Linked DNA regions of Homo sapiens: region 1 is linked to region 2. Evidence: promoter capture Hi-C in 16 types of primary human blood cells and fetal thymus (Javierre and others, 2016). All regions are on one chromosome and are shown on one strand. The core of a region is centred on a gene start or on the middle of the fragment in contact, and the rest is flanking DNA. Distances in the headings are between cores, read along the strand shown. Region 1 has its middle 72 kb from the start of DNAH14. Region 2 holds the start of CNIH3 (cornichon family AMPA receptor auxiliary protein 3).

The links. Contacts are between HindIII fragments. The CHiCAGO score rates a contact against its expected background, and 5 or more counts as called.
Region 1: a fragment that was not itself captured here is called in contact with the fragment with the promoter of CNIH3 in region 2 in 3 of 17 cell types (M0 macrophages, M2 macrophages and M1 macrophages); the score reaches 7.7 in M0 macrophages.

The regions. Positions count from the first base shown.
Region 1 is chr1:224,855,626-224,860,076 of GRCh38, forward strand. No RefSeq gene overlaps it. Among named protein-coding and RNA genes, the nearest start is that of DNAH14, 72 kb to the right of the region's middle. RefSeq lists an enhancer at 3,595-4,451. The HindIII fragment of the contact is 360 bases long and covers 1,924-2,283 here.
Region 2 is chr1:224,613,923-224,618,202 of GRCh38, forward strand. It overlaps CNIH3 (cornichon family AMPA receptor auxiliary protein 3), which reads left to right and starts at 2,395. Exons shown (of 6, transcript NM_152495.2): 1 at 2,395-3,333. The coding sequence starts at 3,253. CNIH3-AS2 (CNIH3 antisense RNA 2) reads right to left here and starts at 2,305. Exons shown (of 4, transcript NR_183287.1): 1 at 2,276-2,305; 2 at 1,690-1,814; 3 at 1,282-1,505. The HindIII fragment of the contact is 4,503 bases long and covers 1-4,083 here.

The sequences.
Region 1 (4,451 bases), core at 854-3,353, 240 kb after region 2:
AAAAGTTAGCTGGGCGTGGTGGCAGGCACCTATAGTCCCAGCTACTTGGAAGGCTGAGGCAGGAGAATCACTTGAACCCAGGAGGCGGAGGTTGCAGTGAGCTGAGATCGCACCACTGCACTCCAGCCTGGGCGACAGAGAAAGACTCCGTCTCCAAAAAAAAAAAAAAAAGGTGAATAATTAGCATTGGGTGTCCATTTTCTCAGGCGAATTTGTAGCTGAATGAAAGACTAAACCCAAATAAACTTTAATTAATAGGTTTGATGCAAGAGACAGAATTAAGCAAAAATGATCCTGGGAACTTACCCTAAGTTGTTTGAACAACAAGCCAGCTGGGATTTGGGGCATCCCTTTCTCTAGTAGGGTGTCCCCATGGCATCCTCCCTGGAGCAGATGGGACTGCAACATCCCATGGGCCTTAGGGTCTCCAGGCACTGGCATCTTGCTTTCCCCCAGGAAGCTCCTGAGAACAGCTGGCACCCAAATCCAGACTGCCCAGTGCCCAATAAGTTTGTTCTCAGACTTGCCCCAAAAGAATAGAAAGCAGCTGAGGGCCAGGTCCCTCCCCTGGAACAACCTCCATGGTGAAGTCAGCTGTAATGCCCTGGCACCACCCACCTCTCATGAGGATAGTGGGAGAGAGGGAGCCCTGCCTTCCCTTGTTAACTCTCATTTTGTACGTTTGCTTCATTTTCTAGTAAAGTCCATTTCTTCCCCAGTCTATGTTATGTTGTGAAATTCAACCAAGCCTTAGTACATGACTCTGAAGGAATCTGCCTCAGATGAAAATGGGTTAGTTTTAACTGGAGAGGCAATTTCTTACAGCCTACCACGAGCTTTGTCCATCACAATGCTCTGCTAAGTGATTCAGCTTGGATAAAGATTTGGAAGGCAAGCTGCTCAGACCTGTAGGGGATATGAAGCTAGGACAGTGTGAATGGAGAAACCCCTGGAGGGCCAAGTCAAAATACTAAAAGAGCTCAATAAGATCTTTTTAAAATGCTGGGCCCATACATTAAAGAGAAAATATCACAAGATCAAATTAATTTGGGTTAAAAACATTATAAAGTACAAAATGGATGATATGATTTGGCTCTGTGTGCCCACCCAAATCTCACCTTGAATTGTAATAATCTCTACGTGTCAAGAACGGGACCAGGTGGAGATAATTGAATCATGGGGGCAATTCACCGATATTATTCTCATGATAGTGAGTCAGTTCTCACAGGATCTGATGGTTTTATAAGGGGCTTCCCCCTTCACTTGTCTCTCACTTCTCTTGTCTGCTACCATGTAAGATGTGCCTGTTTTGTCTTCCGCCATGACTGTAAGTTTCCTGAGGCCTCCCTAGCCAAGCACGACTGTGAGTCAATTAAACTTCTTTTCTTTATAAATTATTCAGTCTCAGTTATGTCTTCAAAGCAGCATGAAAATGGACTAATACAAGAACTTATCTTAATAGCAATTCTTATGAAAAATATCTGAAAGTTTAGTAGACCCAAGTTCCATATGAACCAGTAATATTATGTGGTTGACAAAAAAGCTGACTCAGCCTCCGGTGATGGAAATAAGAGAGACAGAGTTAGTTCCCCCAAGTTCTCCACTGGCTGGGTCAGATCTGGACCCAGTGACAACTTGATCAACATTCTGGGGAGTGCAAAAAGAATGTTGTAGGGTTTTATGGGGAAAGATTTAAAGAGCTGGAGAAATTTAGCTTGAAAAAGGCAGAACTTCACTATCACCAAACAGCTTTCTTAAAATATTTGAAGGGCTGTTATTCAATTGCCCAATAAAAAAATCCACTGTCACACTGAAGGAAAAATGTAGATTTGTTTTCAGTATGGTTTCATGGAACAGAACAAGTACAAATTGGTAAAAGTCATAGGAAAACAATCACCAGAGCCAAAACCAAACCAAAACAAAAGCTTTTAGACATTTATTGCTCCAAAAATGTGACAAGCTGATTCACAGAGAAGTGCCCTCCTTAGTGCTAAGCCTGGGGGATGGCCATCATAAGAGAGAGTCTGGAGAGGTCTTTGAGCTGTACCAAAAGGGAGACTGTAAGTCACCAACCCAATGTACATTCTGCCCTTCTTCAGTACAAAATCCTCATTTTATATGGGGCATCAATGTGCCTGGCCAAAAACCAGTGCCTTATTGCTAGGTGTGGCCACATATCTAAGTTCAGGACAAACAGTTATAAATGAAAGGGTTTTGTGGGAGGGCTCATTAAAGAGGGATTAGCAGGGAGGTACACTTTTGTGCTCTTCCTCTTTTATAAAAAGCTTAGAGTATGGATGTTATGGCTGGTGCACCAGCAGCCATCTTGGACCATGATGTAACTGTGAGGATAGAAACCTTACTCAGGATGGTGGAGCAGAAAGACGAAGCTGAGTATCTAATGATGATAGAGCTGCCATTCTGTACATATTTTGGGGGGTATTTACTGTTTTCCAAGTAGTGTTCTAGGCACTTGGTGAACAAAACAGTGTCTGCTTTCACAGACCTTACACTTGTGAGGAAGGCAGAGCTCTTGCTGCATTATTCAAACTCTGGAGATAGGGAGCATTATCCTAGAATGCAATGATGGCCTCTGAAGTTATGCAAAGAGTGGTCCTCAGGGGAGCTTTCCTCATAGTAGTACACATATTTATTTATTTATTTTTTGAGACAGAATCTCACACTGTTGCCCAGGCTGGAGTGCAATGGCACAATCTCGGCTCACTGCAACCTCCGCCTCCTAGGTTCAAGCGATTCTCCTGCCTCAGCCTCCCGAGTGGCTGGGATTACAGGTGTCTGCCACCATGCCTGGCTAATTTTTTGTATTTTTAGTAGAGATGGGGTTTCACTATATTGGCCAGGCTGGTCTTGAACTTCTAACCTCATGATCTGCCTGCCTCGGCTTCCCAAAGTGCTGAGATTACAGGTATGAGCACTTATAATCTTGACTAGATAGATGAGAACATTGAGATTTACAGATATTATTTCCCCAGGTTACTCAAAGAGTGATCAGACTGAGATTCAAACCCAAGTGTGTTGGCTCCAACCTCACTTTTGTAACCACTTCTCTCAACTTGTTCAAAGGCAAGAGATGGGAGAAAGATAGGAAGACACTCAGAGAAATAAGGAGGAGAACCAGGAGAGTGCACATTTTAGAAGAAAAGGAGGAGAAGAGTTACAAGAAAGAGAGAGGTGAAGAGAAGGAAGGTGAGGACCAATAATGGGTGACAGGATTTGGAGAGTAGACATTAGTGACCTTCAAGAAAACAATTTTAGTAGAGAATCTTCCTGGCTTACTTTAATTCTTTAAACCTGAGTCTTTTTTTTCTCTCTCTCTGTAACAGGTTTACAAAATCTTTCATTTTTATCTATTATTGAGATTTATGTTAAAAATAGATTTCAGCAACTGTTTGGTAGTATAATTATTCCTATGACATCAGTAGTACATCCAGTACCAATTTTTTTTCAAGCTACCAAATGCCACCAAGAATTGCATATTGTACAGTGGCAGCAGCTGTTTTGCAGGCATTTAAGTATAGAACTGAGATGTTTTTCACAAAAAAACTTCTTGTATCCACATCCATGGACCTGAAAGGTGTTTGCACACCATATGCTTCATTTTCTTCAACTGTAGAGTAATAAATAACATTGTCAAAATCACTACTGAAAAGTATGTGCTCATTTTCTTGGGGGTGGAGGGAAGTGGAGTTCATGTTTCTAAAACTATTTCCTCATTTGAATTTATCTTCATCGCTCAGGAGAAAACTGTCCTTCTAATTGTCAAGGAACTGTAGTAGGTTGTAAACATCCCTGGAAATTCCAGTTTCGAATGATATTTCCTATAATGTCTTGAGTCTGAAGGATGAAATGGAAGGAGAGGCAAGGTAAGCCGCAAACTACCCACGACTCTTTTCTCACCCTATCGTCTCACATCCACCACCCTCATCACTGATTTCCTTCCCCTCTACATGCCCAGCCTAATCAATTAAAACAGCAAGTTTATTTTCATATTTACCATTGAGAATGAAGGCTCTTTAGCATAACAGGTGTTAGTTCCACAAAATATTTCTTGGAAGACAAAGACCACACTTGTTGGGGGTTTGATGAATAATTTGTAGGGCATGTTATTAACATGCCCTGTGCCCAGACAATGGTACATGAGTAACTGCAGAAGGAGATACTTGCTTTCCTCCTAAGAGCTCATGAAAGGGCTATGTCAATGTGCAGTGGGTGTGTGTAGCGGATGTGGGTGGGAAGATAAACTCTATCCTGATGAAGGGGCCCATGCCAATCTCCCGCTCAGACTGTGGTCACCTGCCATGATGGTGATTGATTTGGTGGGGTCTGGGTGGTTACAAATTAGTCAAACCCAGAGTGGAAAGTACTATTGAATTTAAGATGAAGTTGGTTTTTTCCTTCTTAATTGTGTTTCTTTTTGTCATTTCACCCCG
Region 2 (4,280 bases), core at 1,145-3,644:
GGCTGGAGTGCAGTGGTATGAACACAGCTCACTGCACCCTTGACCTCCTGGGCTCAAGCAACACTCTCACCTTAGCCCTGCAAGAAGCTGGGACTACAGGTGCATGCCACCACACCCGGCTAATTTTTGTATTTTTTGTAGAGATGGGGTTTCTGCCATGTTGTCCAGGCTGGTCTCAAATACCTAAGCTCAGGTGATCTGCCCACCTCGACCTCCCCAAGTACTGGGATTACAGGCATAAACCACCATGCCTGGCCAGGTATTTCTTTATAGCAATGCAAGAACGGCCTAATACAAAGTCCCACATTTTCATTTTGCACTTGGCCCTCCAAAGTATGTAGCCGGTCCTGACCCAGAGGCAATAAAATGTAGATCGGTTCATTGCTCTGGTCATCAGCCTCTGGATTTGCTCTAATTTCTCCACTTCTCACTGAAAGGCATCTAGTTTCTAAACTGGAGGGAGATATGAGGCCAGGCACTGTGGTGCACACCTATAATCCCAGCGCTTTGGGAGGCCAAGGCTGGAAGACTGCTTGAGGCCAGGAGTTTGGGACCAGCCTGGCCATATATTGAGACCTATGTCTGCAAACAAAACAAAACAAAAATTATCTGGGTGTGGTGGTGCATGCCTGTAGTCCTAGCAAGGAGTTTGAGGCTACAGTGAGCTATGATAGCACCACTGCACTCCAGCCTGGGCAACACAGCAAGACTGTCTTCAAAAAAATAAAATAAAATAAATTGAAGGGCCTGGAGCGGTGGCTCACGCCTGTAATCCCAGCACTTTGGGAGGCCGAGGTGGGTAGATCACGAGGTCAAGAGATCGAGACCATCTTGGCCAACATGGTGAAACCCCGTCTTTACTAAAAATACAAAGATTAGCTGGGCGTGGTGGTGCGTGCCTGTAGTCCCAGCTACTCGGGAGGCTAAGGCAGGAGAATCGCTTGAACCAGGGAGGTGGAGGTTGCAGAGATCACGCCACTGCACTCCAGCCTGGCGACAAAGTGAGACTCCGTCAAATAAATAAATAAATAAATAAATAAATAAATAAATAAATAAGTAAAAGATGTGGCCAAATAGCTGCAGGAATGTTGGGGCATAGTAGAAAGAGCCCAGGATTAGGAGTCCGCAGACAGGATTCCAGTTCTGTCACTAGAAAGCTGTATCTCTATCTTGCTGGAATTCATCCCTTCCAGCTCTCAAGGCATTGGAATCACATCTGTGAACAGGAAAACTAGCACACCAGAGTCAGAATCAAGCAATAGTTATTTATCTAGTTCCCACCCTGTGCAAGGTACCAGGTGCTCTAAGATTCACTCCAATCCATGAAGTGCGTCTACTCTTTCACCGAGATTTGCCAGTCGTCTTTCAGGGTATTTTTCCTTGCTTTCTGGATTTGATGACTTGTCTGAAACTGAAGTTCTCTCTGGAATGACTGGACCTCTTTCACTGCAGCGTCAGGAATCTCTTGCAAAGCAAGCATGGTGAACTTCCAAGATGCTGGGCCACTGGGGGAAAGGGTGCAATTAATAATCCCTACCACTTATTGAACGTATACCAAGTGCTAGGTTTTTTACTTATGTTCCCTTTTAATCCTTTGAAATGGCTTGACTCTACTCTTATTTATGTTTTTCTGATAAGGAAACTAAGGATTAAAGAGGTTAGGTAACTTGCAGCTAGAAAACGGTCTACCTTCAAAAGCATCCTCTTGACAATTCCACTAGGACCAACACCAATACCACCGAGCCCTCGTTGCTGCCTCTTCAGCGCAGAATAGCCCACCAAGTCCACGTTTCCCTAGTCCCAAGGTCGGATGGCTGGGGAGGGTAGAGGATGCAACGGAAGGACGTTAATGGAGAATTTTGCAGGGTCTGGGAGCAGAGCAGTAAACGCAGCCCTAAGCACTGAGTATGCTACAGTTTGGTAAAATCCATCCAAGCAGCTTTGGGATCCAAGGCTTGCACTGTATCCCCAACCAACACTAGGCAACGCCCCAAGTCCCCACACTTCCCACTCCGATAGGCGAAACTGCAAGAACCGGGAGGGGCGGCTGCGGCGTTTAGGCGCGAGGCACACACCATACCCTTCCGCAGCTTCCCACCTCCTCCAGACGCACGTGTTTAAAGAGTCCCTGCTCCAACCGGTCCCGCCCCACCTCCGCTCGGCCTCCAGCCCTGCTTGTACTGCTGGCTTCAAGTTTCCTCCGAGAGGCGGGCGTGCACAGCTGCAGTGGCGGCGGCAGCGGCCACCAAGCGCCCGGCGGCGCTTCGCCACCCACCTTTCCTCAGCCCCCGGCGCTGCAGTCTCCGCCCGCCGGGGAGGGCGCGCTCAGCGGAACAGGAGTCGAGGGTGGGGCGCCGAGAGGAGGGAATCCCGGGTCGCACCGCTACAGTTCTCGCAGTGGCAAAGGCGGCGGCGGCGGCGGCGGCAGCGGCAGCAGCAGGTGGAGCGAGCTACAGCGTTTGGCCTGAAACCCACTGCTGCAGCCACCCGGGCTGGAGTTGGCCCGTTGGGTGGAGCCAGTGCTCGCCCCGGTCCGACCCCCGGTTTCCGGGACACTTGGGTTGCGGAGGCCGGCTGGCCGGAGTCACGGTTGGGGACGGGCGCGCCTCGGAGCGCACGGCTGCGCTGGAAGCCGCGTCTGGGGCGCAGGACCAACGGGACCTACCTCCTCCCGGCTACCTAAAGACTCCTTCTCTCGGGAAAGAGCGCTGCCCGGCTCTGGGATTTGGGAGGAGCTCGGAGGCCGCTCGGGCACCTCGCTGGACACTATCCGTTTGCGCCCCGGTGGCGCGGGAGGGTCCGGAGCGGAGCGCTCGTCTCTCCTCAGCGGTTTAGTGGAGAAAAGCAGAGAGCTCTTCCTGGGGCGAATGGGACCTCCTCCCTCGGTCCTCCGTGGAGTCGTCGCATCGCTTGTCGTGTTGGTCTCGAGGGGCTCACAGCTTGGCACTAATTTGCAGGTGTTCGCTGCTGATTTGGTTTCTTCTTCGATTTGCGGACGGTTCCCTCCAGCGACTCTCGACACACGTTTTCCTGTCTTCGCCGGAGGGCCGGGTCTGGGGTCGCCGGAGCCTGCGGGAATCCAGCGCTTATTCGCTGACCCTCGAGTCGCTTCGCTAGCTGTGCGCCCTCCTGGGCACTAGCCTGGAGAGGAGCGTGCAGACGCGGCTCCTTGGAGGGAGTGCGGTCCTCTAGGGAGGCATCGGGCTCCTAGGGGCTTCTTGGCGTGTGTGGTGGGATTGGGGTCCGCCGGCCATGGCCTTCACTTTCGCTGCGTTCTGCTACATGCTGTCTCTGGTGCTGTGCGCTGCGCTCATCTTCTTCGCCATCTGGCACGTGAGTAACACGCTTTGGTCTCTCTTCTTTCGCCCCAATTTCGCTAAATTTCCCCGATTTCACCCCACTTTTTCCACCTTGCGGGCGTGGGCGAACCGGAAGGTTGGACCTTCTGCCGCTCCACTGTCCCGGGGCAGGAGGCAGTTCGCTGCATCCCGCCGGGCGCGCCTTCGGTGCCCTGGCTGGAGGCGAGGGGCCGCTGGTGCCCAGGTAGGACACCCTCTGCAGGGCCCGACTGGGCGTCCCGGGTCCCGGGCGCCGGGGAGTGGCGGCTACAACCACAACTAACCCCTTCCTCTCCCGCCCCGTCCTCTCCTGCCGGCGGGAGGCGAAGGAGAAGCGCCGCCGTCGGTCCCGGCAATTAGTCAAGTAGCTATAATAACTAAACATTTAAAATGTCAGCATCTGTGGTGGGTTGCATTTAGATATAATTGGAGACAAAGTGGAAACACGACGGGAGCGCCTTGTAAGAGGTAGGGAGAAGCCGAGCCCACGGAGAGGAAGGAGACCAGGCGATGGGGGTCGAAGTGGAAGGCGGTGGGGGAAAGGCGAGAAGGAGAAGAGCAAGGAGGCGAGGGAGACTGGGAAGGGCAGGCATCATTAAGGCCATGGAGGAAAGTCACGAAGAGAGACCGTGGAGAGCGACGACGGTGTCCTCCATCTGCCCTCTTGGCGTCTGAAGTCCGACTCCTGAAGACCCCCTGCAGGTGGCGAACCTCCGCTAGGCCCCCAGCGTCCCCAGCCCACACAAGCTTCCTGTCACCCTTCCCGGGGCTACGCCAGGTGGAGGGCAGCCGTGGATCCCAGTTCTTTAGGTGTGGGTGGGAATAGAGGAGCGCAAGCTTCTGAATAGGGGAAGAGAAGTACTGAGAGAGCGCGCAGGAGTGCGTACGCCGGTCCTCTCAAAGACTGTGCAACATTTAGCGAGTGCATGCAACTCTCAAGGC